Regions from separate parts of the Homo sapiens genome. Here regions 2 and 3 are each linked to region 1. Evidence: promoter capture Hi-C in 16 types of primary human blood cells and fetal thymus (Javierre and others, 2016). All regions are on one chromosome and are shown on one strand. The core of a region is centred on a gene start or on the middle of the fragment in contact, and the rest is flanking DNA. Distances in the headings are between cores, read along the strand shown.

What was found. Contacts are between HindIII fragments. The CHiCAGO score rates a contact against its expected background, and 5 or more counts as called.
Region 2: a fragment that was not itself captured here is called in contact with the fragment with the promoter of SLC18B1 in region 1 in 1 of 17 cell types (total CD8 T cells); the score reaches 6.6 in total CD8 T cells.
Region 3: a contact is called between a fragment that was not itself captured here and the fragment with the promoter of SLC18B1 in region 1, in 1 of 17 cell types (non-activated CD4 T cells). The highest score is 8.8, in non-activated CD4 T cells.

Annotation. Positions count from the first base shown.
Region 1 is chr6:132,796,770-132,800,500 of GRCh38, reverse strand. It overlaps SLC18B1 (solute carrier family 18 member B1), which reads left to right and starts at 1,864. Exons shown (of 14, transcript NM_052831.3): 1 at 1,864-2,087; 2 at 3,380-3,519. The coding sequence starts at 2,045. RefSeq lists a silencer at 1,797-1,846 and an enhancer at 3,078-3,578. The HindIII fragment of the contact is 1,643 bases long and covers 1,629-3,271 here.
Region 2 is chr6:136,279,972-136,283,380 of GRCh38, reverse strand. It overlaps BCLAF1 (BCL2 associated transcription factor 1), which reads left to right. Exons shown (of 13, transcript NM_014739.3): 2 at 694-797. Among named protein-coding and RNA genes, the nearest start is that of BCLAF1, 8.2 kb to the left of the region's middle. The HindIII fragment of the contact is 1,644 bases long and covers 907-2,550 here.
Region 3 is chr6:136,297,394-136,300,780 of GRCh38, reverse strand. The region is part of intron 2 of LOC124901408 (a long non-coding RNA gene); the gene reads right to left. Among named protein-coding and RNA genes, the nearest start is that of BCLAF1, 9.2 kb to the right of the region's middle. The HindIII fragment of the contact is 594 bases long and covers 1,044-1,637 here.

The sequences.
Region 1 (3,731 bases), core at 615-3,114:
GTGCTAGGATTACAGGCGTGAGCCACAGCACCTGGCTTAGAGTGGAACTTTCTGTTCAGAGTGGTTCTCTAGGTTCTCCTTTACAACTTGCCCACTGGGGAATTTTTTTTTTTTTTTTTTTGAGATGGAGTCTCGCTCGGTTGCCCAGGCTGGAGTGCAATGGCATGATCTCTGCTCACTGCAACCTCCGAGTCCCAGGTTCAAGCGATTCTCCTGCCTCAGTCTCCTGAGTAGCTGGGTGCCATCATGCCCAGCTAATTTTTGTATTTTTGTAGAGACGGGGTTTCACCGTGTTGGTCAGGCAGGTCTCGAACTTCTGACCTCGTGACCCGCCCACCTCGGCCTCCCAAAGTGCTGGGATTACAGGCGTGAGCCACCGCGCCCGGCCCTCACTGGGGAGTTTTTACATAACCTTCAAGAACCAAGGTAACATCACTTCCTCAGGAAGTCATCCAGGACCCATTTGCCAAAGTAAATGGTTCTTCCAATATGTTTGTATACAACCGATTGCATTATAGTAGATTATTAATTAGTGTGAATTTCATCTGCTAGAAGGTGTGCTACTTGAGGGCAGAGTCTGGATGGGGCTCATTCCTCTTTAAATTCATAATGCCTGGCACAAAGTGGTAACTCAGTCTTTTGTTTTGCTTTGGCTTCAAAACAAGAATTTCCCAGTCCTTAAACTTTATTTATTTATTTGAGACAGAGTTTCGCTTTTTCACCCAGGCTGGAATGAGGTGGCACAGTAATTACAAACTTACTATCAGCCATACTGTGTACTGGAACTGACCTTGTACAGTGGATCTGAGGCAGATTCTCAGTCGATAAAGCTACCCTCACACAATTCTTTTGGATCTTGGCTCACTGTAACCTCCGCCTCCCAGGTTCAAACGATTCTCCTGCCTCAGCCTCCCTAGTAGCTGGGATTACAGGTGCCTGCCACCACGCCTGGCTGATTTTTTTGTATTTTTATAGTAGAGACAGGGTTTCACCATGTTGGCCGGGCTGGTCTAGAACTCCTGACCTCAGGTGAGCTGCCCACCTCGGCCTCCCAAACTGCTGGGATTACAGGCATGAGCCACCGTGTCCAGCCAGTCCTCGAGCTTTAACACTTCCCAAATAGTAAATACGGTGAAAATAAGTGAAACCTATTTTTTATGCAAGAAAACTGTGAGTGTGAGAGTAAGGTAGCAGCCATCATGTTCATGTGCTAACTACTAACACACTTTATCGCCAATGCTCACAGCCGCCCTACGAGATAAACATTATAATCTCAGTTGTACAGGTAGAGAAACTGACCTTGTCATCCAAAGTTACACACTGCCAGCAAGTGCCCTGGCTTGAATCCCTGGCACCTGCCTCCAGAGGTCGCACTCCTAGCCACTTCGCCATGCTTCCTCGATATTCATTAGTATTCTTGCAAATATTTTTCGACTCCAGGTGCTTCACATAGGTTAATTCATTTCCGGTTCAATAGTGTCTGGCTTCAGTAATTACGAACACTACCGCATTTACCCACTGTGAAAAATAATTCACTCTTTCAAAGTTCCTGTATAACCTAATTTTCTAATTCACTTTTGTGTCTTTCAGTTGAGGTACTCCCTGCCTTTTCTGTGTCTACATAAGCTTCCTTTCTTTCGTTTCGTAGGAATAAATTGAACTTATTTTAAGATTGAGGGGGGTACAGCTGTATGGAATATAGACTCATCTTTTTTCACTCTCTGTCACAGAATGAAAAAGGACACCATGATATAGCAGCTGAGGTGGTGGATTAAGATAATGAGGCGGGGGGGGGGCGCAAAACAAAAAAAAAAGGAGCCTTGCTCCACCCCTGCCCCGCCCCCGGCCTCCTCCCGGGGACCCAGAGTCCTGGAAGGCTTTGGGGAGCTCCGGGCCGGGCGGATCGCTGCCTGCAGGGAGTCGGGGATGCCAGGTTCCAGCTGAGCAGCGGCCGCCCGCCAGAGTGCCAGTGGCTCCTTGGAGGTCGAGTCCAAGGACGTGGCTTGAAGCCGGGAGCTGGGGCGCCGGAGTCCACGCACCGGGGATGGAGGCGCTGGGTGACCTGGAGGGACCACGCGCACCAGGAGGTGACCATGAATTGCGTGGCCGGGAGCCCGGAGACCAGCGGCGGCTTCCGGCGTGTCTCTTTAGCAACGATTGAATTGCTTATAGCTTGATCTGTTTCCGAGAGATTGGAAAAGGCTGGGGCCTGATCGTGGGGTTCGGGCCAGCGTTTCTTTTCTCTCTGGACGGGGTAAAGTTCCAGGATTGGATATGTGTCACGGTTTCTAATGACTTTCTAACCTATACCTCTGCTTTTTAAGTACTGTGTGTTTAATGCATTCAAATAAGTATGCCATTAGGCAAATGTAAAACGTTACCTTTCAAGTACCCATTGTTGTTGCCTTTCTTTTTAACTTTCATTTCCCTTTCTCATCTACTACAAACATTTTACAAAGATTCGTAAGACTTCCTCATGTTGCACTGATTTTTTTTTTCCTTCTGGACTGCAATGGCAACCTCTGACAAATAGAGCAAAGCAAATGTATTTCTCTTAAGTTTTTCCTAAAAACAATTTAATTTATAAATGGCTGATGGATTTGCTTGGATATTTGGAACTCAGTAATTGATTTCGTGTTTTTAAATGACAATTTAGCCCTGGAAATAAGTGTTAAATTAACTGATGTAAAAGACCAGTAATTAGGGTAAAAAAAAAGTATTTATTTATGAATTTGTGGGACTTGTCTATCCAGAAGCATACCGCTGTAAATATTAATTCACCAGCTGAATGATTTAGCTTGTTTTCTCCTACTTACACTTCATTTGACTTCAATACTGCCTTAGAAATCTTTGTTTTTTGTTTTTGTTTTTGTTTTTGTTTGTTTGTTTTGTTTTGCTTTTTTGAGACGGAGTCTCTCTCTGTAGCCCAGGCTGGAGTGCAGTGGTGCGATCTTGGCTCACTGCAAGCTCCGCCTCCCGGGTTCACGCCATTCTCCTGCCTCAGCCTCCCGAGTAGCTGGGATACAGGGGCCCGCCACCACGCCCGGCTAATTTTTTGTATTTTTAGTAGAGACGGGGTTTCACCGTGTTAGCCAGGATGGTCTCGATCTCCTGACCTCGTGATCCGCCTGCCTCGGCCTCCCAAAGTTCTGGGATTACAGGCGTGAGCCACCGTGCCCAGCCGAAAGCAGTACGTTTTCAAAACGGCAGTAATGTACAAGGATTGTGTTCCATTTGATCAAATGTGCTATATTCAAAATAGCCCTAAGCTTAGCAAATGATATCTTCAGAGTGCAACATATGTGCACAGAAATCACATTTGTGTACTTTAATCAGTAGTCTCAATTATATGCCTAATTGCTGCATGTTTGCATTCAAGGTGATGATCCTGCAGGAAGTGCAGGAGAGACCCCCGGGTGGCTTTCGAGAGAACAGGTTTTTGTACTGATATCGGCAGCTTCGGTGAACTTAGGTTCCATGATGTGCTATTCTATACTTGGACCGTTTTTCCCCAAAGAGGTAAGACATTTTTAAATCCTTAGGACCTCTGTTTTTTTGTTTGTTTGTTTTTTAAAAGCCTTTTGAATTATTTTATTTTATAGTATATAAAATGTAAAAATCTGCATATAGGACAGATGGTGTATAGAACTCCAGCCAATAGAATACTTCTTATAGAATGCCTGATACCAGGAAAAAAAATCCAGTCAAAAAGAACATCTTCTTGGGAGGTA
Region 2 (3,409 bases), core at 479-2,978, 3.5 Mb before region 1:
TTTAGGCACAGAATTTAAAGTTACTATGATGGCTGTTAACGTGGATTTAAAAATCAGTTTCACATGAAACTAAATTGTGTGAAAGGAAGTACCAAAAGAGAATAAGTAGCAGAGCATTAAACTCATATTTTAGATGTTATAAAGTAGAGCATTATGAAAATTAACTACAGATTACCTTTTTTTTTTTTTTTTTTTTTTTTTTGAGATGGGGTCGTGCTGTGTTGCCAAGGCTAGAGTGTGTTGCCAAGGCTAGTCACAGGTGTGATCACAGTGCATTGCAGTGTCAAACTCCTGGGCTCAAGTGATCCTTCTGCATCAGCCTCCCAAGTAGCTGGGACTACAGGCTTGTGCTACCTTGCCCCGCTACCAAGATGGCATTATGTTAGCTACGTTGGAATTTTCTGATGGAACGACATATCATATGTTTTTTAAGGCTCAAATTACTAAAATTAGAATTCAAGTAGTTAAAAAGATGCTGTCAGTTTCATGATACGCTACTGCATTGTGGTTTACAAAAAAGTTGAATTTTAAGCTTTTACGGTTAAAAGTTTCCTATTTCCTGAATTAGTTTTTCCTTCCCTGAAATTGTAAGTGCGTTTATTAGAGTTTATGGCAGTGCCCATTATATGCATTGTAAATAATGGTTATTTAATTTAACATAAATCACAATAATGGTTTTTTTGTCTTTGCTAGGAATTCGAATTTAGAGTTTAATTTCTCAGAGCATTCTCTCCAGGAAGAATTTTTACAGTATCTCAAAGACTTCACTTGACTTCTTGATCCTGCATAAAACCAAGGTAAAAGAGCATTCATTTTTCTAGTTTTCACTTTTGACTTTTTTGAGGAAATGTCACTACTGAATTGATGATTCAGATGGAGTGATTAAAAATGATGTGGTCCGAAGCTTTGTTTTTTGTTTATTTTGGTGGCTTGTATGAAGTAAGTCAGATGTTAAGTTAGTTTTAGGAAAAAGGTTCTTTTTCTGTCTTCTTCCAGGTTGTGCTCCTGCTTTTTCTATTTCTATAAACACATCTACTAAAAGACTCAGGACATACAAGATAGAAAGACTGCTACTTAACCCATTTCCCTAATGTAAACAAGAGGAGATTCATAACTTGTTTCTCTCTACTGTAGTGTTTAGGTAATTCAAATTGATTGCTAATGTGTTAGATGTATTAAGTGAATTAAGTTCATCAACTCATTAAGTCCACTACAAGTCTGTGAAGTAGGTACTGTTATTTTCTTCGTTTTACAGTTGAGGAACAGGCTCAGAGAGCTTAAGGAATTTGAATTCATGTAGTTTAAATGCAGAGACCATGTTCTTAGCTTTTTCCCTGTTTTTGCAGTAGAGCAGAAGATATCAATCCATTTCTTTTGGACTGCTAACTATTTGATAGGCATGCTTTCTTTCCGTTAGTTTTTGAAGTTTCAGGTGTAGCTTAAAGCAAAACGCAAACCTTTAAAAATGAACTTGCTGCTTTAAAAAATGTCCAGGTTCTGGGGAATGCATTCATTTTATAGTTATTTATTAAATACCTGTTGTGCTCGTGTGCCACAAGCCCAGCTACATCCTGGTGACTGAAAAAGCCTACAGAATTCCTGAATCCTTTAACAGAAATTACCATCCAAAAAGCCTCAAGAGCAAAGAACAGAGATTCTGGAGATACAGCACAACACAGCATCTGTAGCTCTTAGTAAAATAGTGTTTTATTTACTGATTAGTACAATGAAAAAGGATGTTGTCTTATTGCTGGACTGGATCTCCAAAATCATTTGCAGCTCTGGTTTCTTTTTATAGTGTGTCTGATTATCTCAGAGTGGGATAAAAATAAATATCTTGAAGTAAATTCGATCAGAATGAATGTAAATTACGTATTTATATTCTTTTAAAAACTTTGGGAGGGACAGAATTTTGAAATCAGATGCAAGAGAATGTCACAGTTCCCCGTGGCCAAGATTCCTTCCTTTACAGGCTGTAAATGTGGTTTTTGCCAATTTCATTATGTTGTCAAAACTACAGTTGCTAAACCAAATTTGTGTTCTACAAGGTGTCAGATCTCCTTATGTTAATGCTAAATTTATTTCTTATGTGTTGTGGAATTCTTACTTTGCCTTTTTGAACCCTGAACCTATGTTTTGTTTCTGTCTTTATGTATTTCTTGCTTACTTGGGATTGAGAAGAAGAGTGAGAGAAGACAAAGGTGGTAGTCTATTAGAGGATAGTTATGTTTTATTTTGAAATAAGCATTTATCTCAAACATCTTGAATTTGTTATTTATATTGCTTGATGAGGAACTATCCAAGTATTACCATTACTTCTTCTATAACTGAACTCATCTTAGTACCTCCAAATACTATTTTATTATACCGAACAAAGTCTAGGTAGGTAAAAAAGTGCCTTCAAAAATACTTGGTTGTAGGAGATACTATTTAAGTATTATGGGAATTGCAAGGTGTTAGAAGTTTAGTAAGTTGATTTTTATTGAAATGAATACTTTTTGAGTAAGTTAGTGTAAATTTGGAAATAGTTCTATGCAGCAAAAACAAGCTTGAGAGGCTAAGATATAATCTAATCATTGAAAAGTTGAAAATGTGACATTTGGGATATGCATGCAGTGATTTGCTATATGTGTATGTTTTTTCAATTAGTAGATCTTATAAATCAATTAGTTTTGACAGTTACTGATTTCTGTACCCAATGAGGTCTAATTATAGCATTGGATACCATGTAGTGTTTAGAAAAGTTAAACTACTGGTGCCCAAGTTTTTTTTTTCTTGTAGTTCTAATAAATCTTTCTTGAAGTAATCCCTCCAATTCTTTATCTTTTATTCTTTTTAAATCTTCTTAACAGAAAGCTTCAGGGTGAACTAGGCATTGTCACATAAGTCCACTTTATTCTGGAGTCATGAGTACTGAGAGCAGAGCCATGGCTCCAGCTGTTTAGAAACTTAGTGTCCTGTATTGTTCTAGGATACTATCTAGTACCACTCCAGACAGGATTGTGTATATGGAGTGGTCAGTTCAGTCTCATTTTCAAGGCCATAAAGCACTATGATAACAGCCTGGTAGGTTTATTTTTTGTTAGTATTGTGACACTTTATTTTATTTCAGTTGCCTTATCTGTAGTACCTTTATTATTTATCTTTCTTACAGGAGGGGTAGGCATTTGTATTGGGCGTGGAATAACACATAACATGCTGCTGCAGTCTCATTGCTTTTTCTGGCTTCTGCAGCTGCTGCCTTTTAGGATTGAGGCTCATAAGTGGGGCAGTCCGTAAAAATCTTCAGTTGTGTCTTTAATCGACAGTACCTGTCATGCAGGTGAAAACAGTTTTAGTCAGGGATAATTGACTTGTCTTCTGAATACTGATTTGAAAAGGATGGTGAATAATAGCCTTTGAGAAACTT
Region 3 (3,387 bases), core at 91-2,590, 3.5 Mb before region 1:
GCCTCCCGGGTTCAAGTGGTTCTTCTGCCTCAGCCTCCCGAGTAGCTGGGACTACAGGCATGCGCCACCACATCTGGCTAATTTTTGTATTTTTAGTAGAGACAGGATTTCACCATATTGGCCAGGCTGGTTTCCAACTCCTCACCTTGTGATCTGCCCGCCTTGGCCTCCCAAAGTGCTGGGATTACAGGCATGAGCCACCATGCCTGGCCTAACAGTAATGATTTTTTAAAAATCGGTGATTTTTATTTATTACAAAGTCATAAGTACTGGTAATACTTCTGTGGTTTTGCCTACATTCATAATTAAGGGAAATGATAAATTTCAGTTTGAAGTTAACAAGGATGTAATTTTTATTTATTTTTTTTTTTTTGAGACAGAGTCTCTTTCTGTTGCCCAGGCTGGCGTGCAGTGGCACGATCTCGGCTCACTGCAACCTCTGCCTCCTGGGTTCAAGTGATTCTCCTGCCTCAGCCTCCCGAGTAGTTGGGATTACAGGTGCCTGCCACCATTTCTGGCTATTTTTTAAATATTTTTAGTAGAGATGGAGTTTCACCATGTTGACCAGGCTGGTCTCAAATTCCTGACCTCAGGTAATCCGCCCGCCTTGTCCTGCCAAAGTGCGGGGATTGCAGGCGTGAGCCACCACGCCCGGCCCCAACAGGGATGTAATTTTTCCCATACAAATATAGCGACATCTCTGGGAGGTTGGGAGAGGTGTGAGGGATACAAGACTACATACTGGGTACAGTGTACACTGCTTGGGTGATGGGTGCACTAAAATCTCAGAATTCACCATTGAAGAATTCATCCATGTAACCAAAAACCACCGGTACCCAAAAAACTATTGAATTAAAAACAACAACAACAACAACAACAAATTATAGTGACAGGTCTGAATTCTATCCACGGATTCTTTGGGAATTGGTAGACCCCTGAGTTCTATCCATGGAGTCACAAGATGGCTTAGGGCCCTGAATCACTGCATGGAGAAAATACTTACCAACCTAATTCAACTGTCTTGGACTGTTTGAGAAAAAGCTTCTATTGCATGTAAGTCATTATGTATTCCGGAGTCTATTTGTTACCACAGCCTAGTTTATACTATCTTTGCCAATGTACATTTGCTAATTACTGTATTATTACTACTGTCTTCACTTTGTCCTTCAACATACATTTTTGAGTAAAATGTCAATTTCCCTTTGTGTTAAATTTCATATATGTATCTATTATTATAGAGCATCTCATACCACTAGCAAGTAATAAATTGTATTGAATATGTATCAAAGACATATGGAGACTAAATTATATTTTTCCAGGGACTTTTACTCTTTTTTTCTTCCAATTTTCAGTTTTATGCACCAGATGGTTGTCAGCTGGATCACTATGAATAAATTATAAATGGCCAATAACAATAAATATTTGTATAGTTCCTGCTCCTGAGCAATTTTTAAGCATGTGAATGAATTTGTTTTCAAACAGTAAGCATCTCATCATGGAGTGAATAGATCATCTCACATGCCATTGACAGAAATATCTCCCTGGAATATATAACAAAGAATGAATGTGTTTAGGAAAAGCTACTGGATGGGCTTGTGTGGGTAGAAATTAACCTCATTACAGTACAAAGTTAAGCTTAATAATGTAGATTAAAAAATAATGGCACAAATACTAGAAACACAAAGTCAGGTCTGTGCTTTCACTATACTCTCTAAAATGGAACTTAAGAAATCAGCCAGTGGTGCTTTTAACATAATTAGCCAGACCCTAATATGACAAATAGAACTTTGAAAAATAACTGTCTTGCAAAGGATTAAGCCATTTTTAGATCTATCTATCACAGTTGGTTGGAATTCAGTGTAAAGTTTCCTTTTAAATGGAAGCAAACAATTTTATATATGTTTTTCTCTTGTTGAACCAAGTACTCCCCTTCATTGCTCGACAGAAGATTCATGAAGCTAAAAGAGGACTATAGAGCACTCTAGGAAAAAAAAACCCCAAAATCCCACAAAAACAAATCTAAAAGATTCTCTCTGGAAGCAAATATTCTCCTAGCAGCAGTTTATAATTAGGCTTATCAAGATTGTGATTTAGTAATGGATATTTTATTATGTATATATGTATGTTTGTATTTTTTAGAGGTAGGTTCTCTCTCTGTCACCCAGGTTGGAGTACAGTGGCTCACACAGTTCAAATTCTGGGTGTAAGTAATCCTCCCTCTTCGGCTTCCTAAAGTGATGGGATTACAGGCATGAGACACCATACCCATCCTTATTCTTCTTGTTTATTAAATGAGAGCTTTTACGCTTGATTTGGAAGAACCACACACACACACACACACACACACACACACACACAAACTTGCTGGGCGAGGTGGCTCACGCTTGTAATCCCAGCACTTTGGGAGGCCGAGGTTGGCAAATCACCTGAGGTCAGGAATTTGAGAACAGCCCGGCCAACATGGTGAAACCCCGTCTCTACTAAAAATACAAAAATTTGCCAGGCGTGGTGGTGCATGCCTGTAATTCCAGCTACTTGGGGGGCAGAGGCAGGAGAATTGCTTGAACCTGGGAGGTGGAGGTTGCAGTGAGCTGAGATCGTGCCACTGCACTCCAGCCTGGGCAACAGAGCGAGACTCTGTCTCAAAAAACAAAAACAAGACCTCTCAGTTTTTAGGTCTTCATTATCTTACACAATTCAAATAAAATTCAATGGTCTACATTTTTAAAAGTTTTTTGATATTAATATTATGAAAGTAATTTTTATTGTAGAAATTTTAGAAAATACAGAAGAGCAAAGGAAGAAAATGTTTTAAAAATTGCCAGTGATGTGGCCATTCAATATATACACAGAACAGTATCATTTTGAGGTTGATTCTTCTGTTTCTACATAGATAGATAAATTTTTAAATGAGATTTTTAAAATGACTTATTTATTTATTTTTAGAGATAGTCTCCCTATGTCACCCAGGCTGGAGTGCAACTTCAAGGGACCCTAAGCCAGAACCACCCAAATAATCACTCTCAGATTTCTGATCCACAGGAGCTGTGAGATAGTAAACATTAAGCTGGTAAATTTGGGGTCATTCATTACGCAGCAGTAGACAACCAATACATTTGATTTCACTTATTTCCTACTTCATAGGCTGTTCTCAGTCTCCTTTATTGGCTCCGCCTCCTCTTTTAACAAATCTCTAAATGTTGGGATTCTTTAGGGTTCACTCCTAGGCTGTCTTCTCTTGTCTCCCTATATTTCTCATCCTGTGATTTTATCTTATTTTATTTTATTTTTTTTTAGAAAGGGTCTCGCTCTGTCACCCATGCTGGAGTGCAGTGGTGCAATCATGGCTCACTGCAGTCTCAACATCCTGGGCTCTAGAAATCCTCC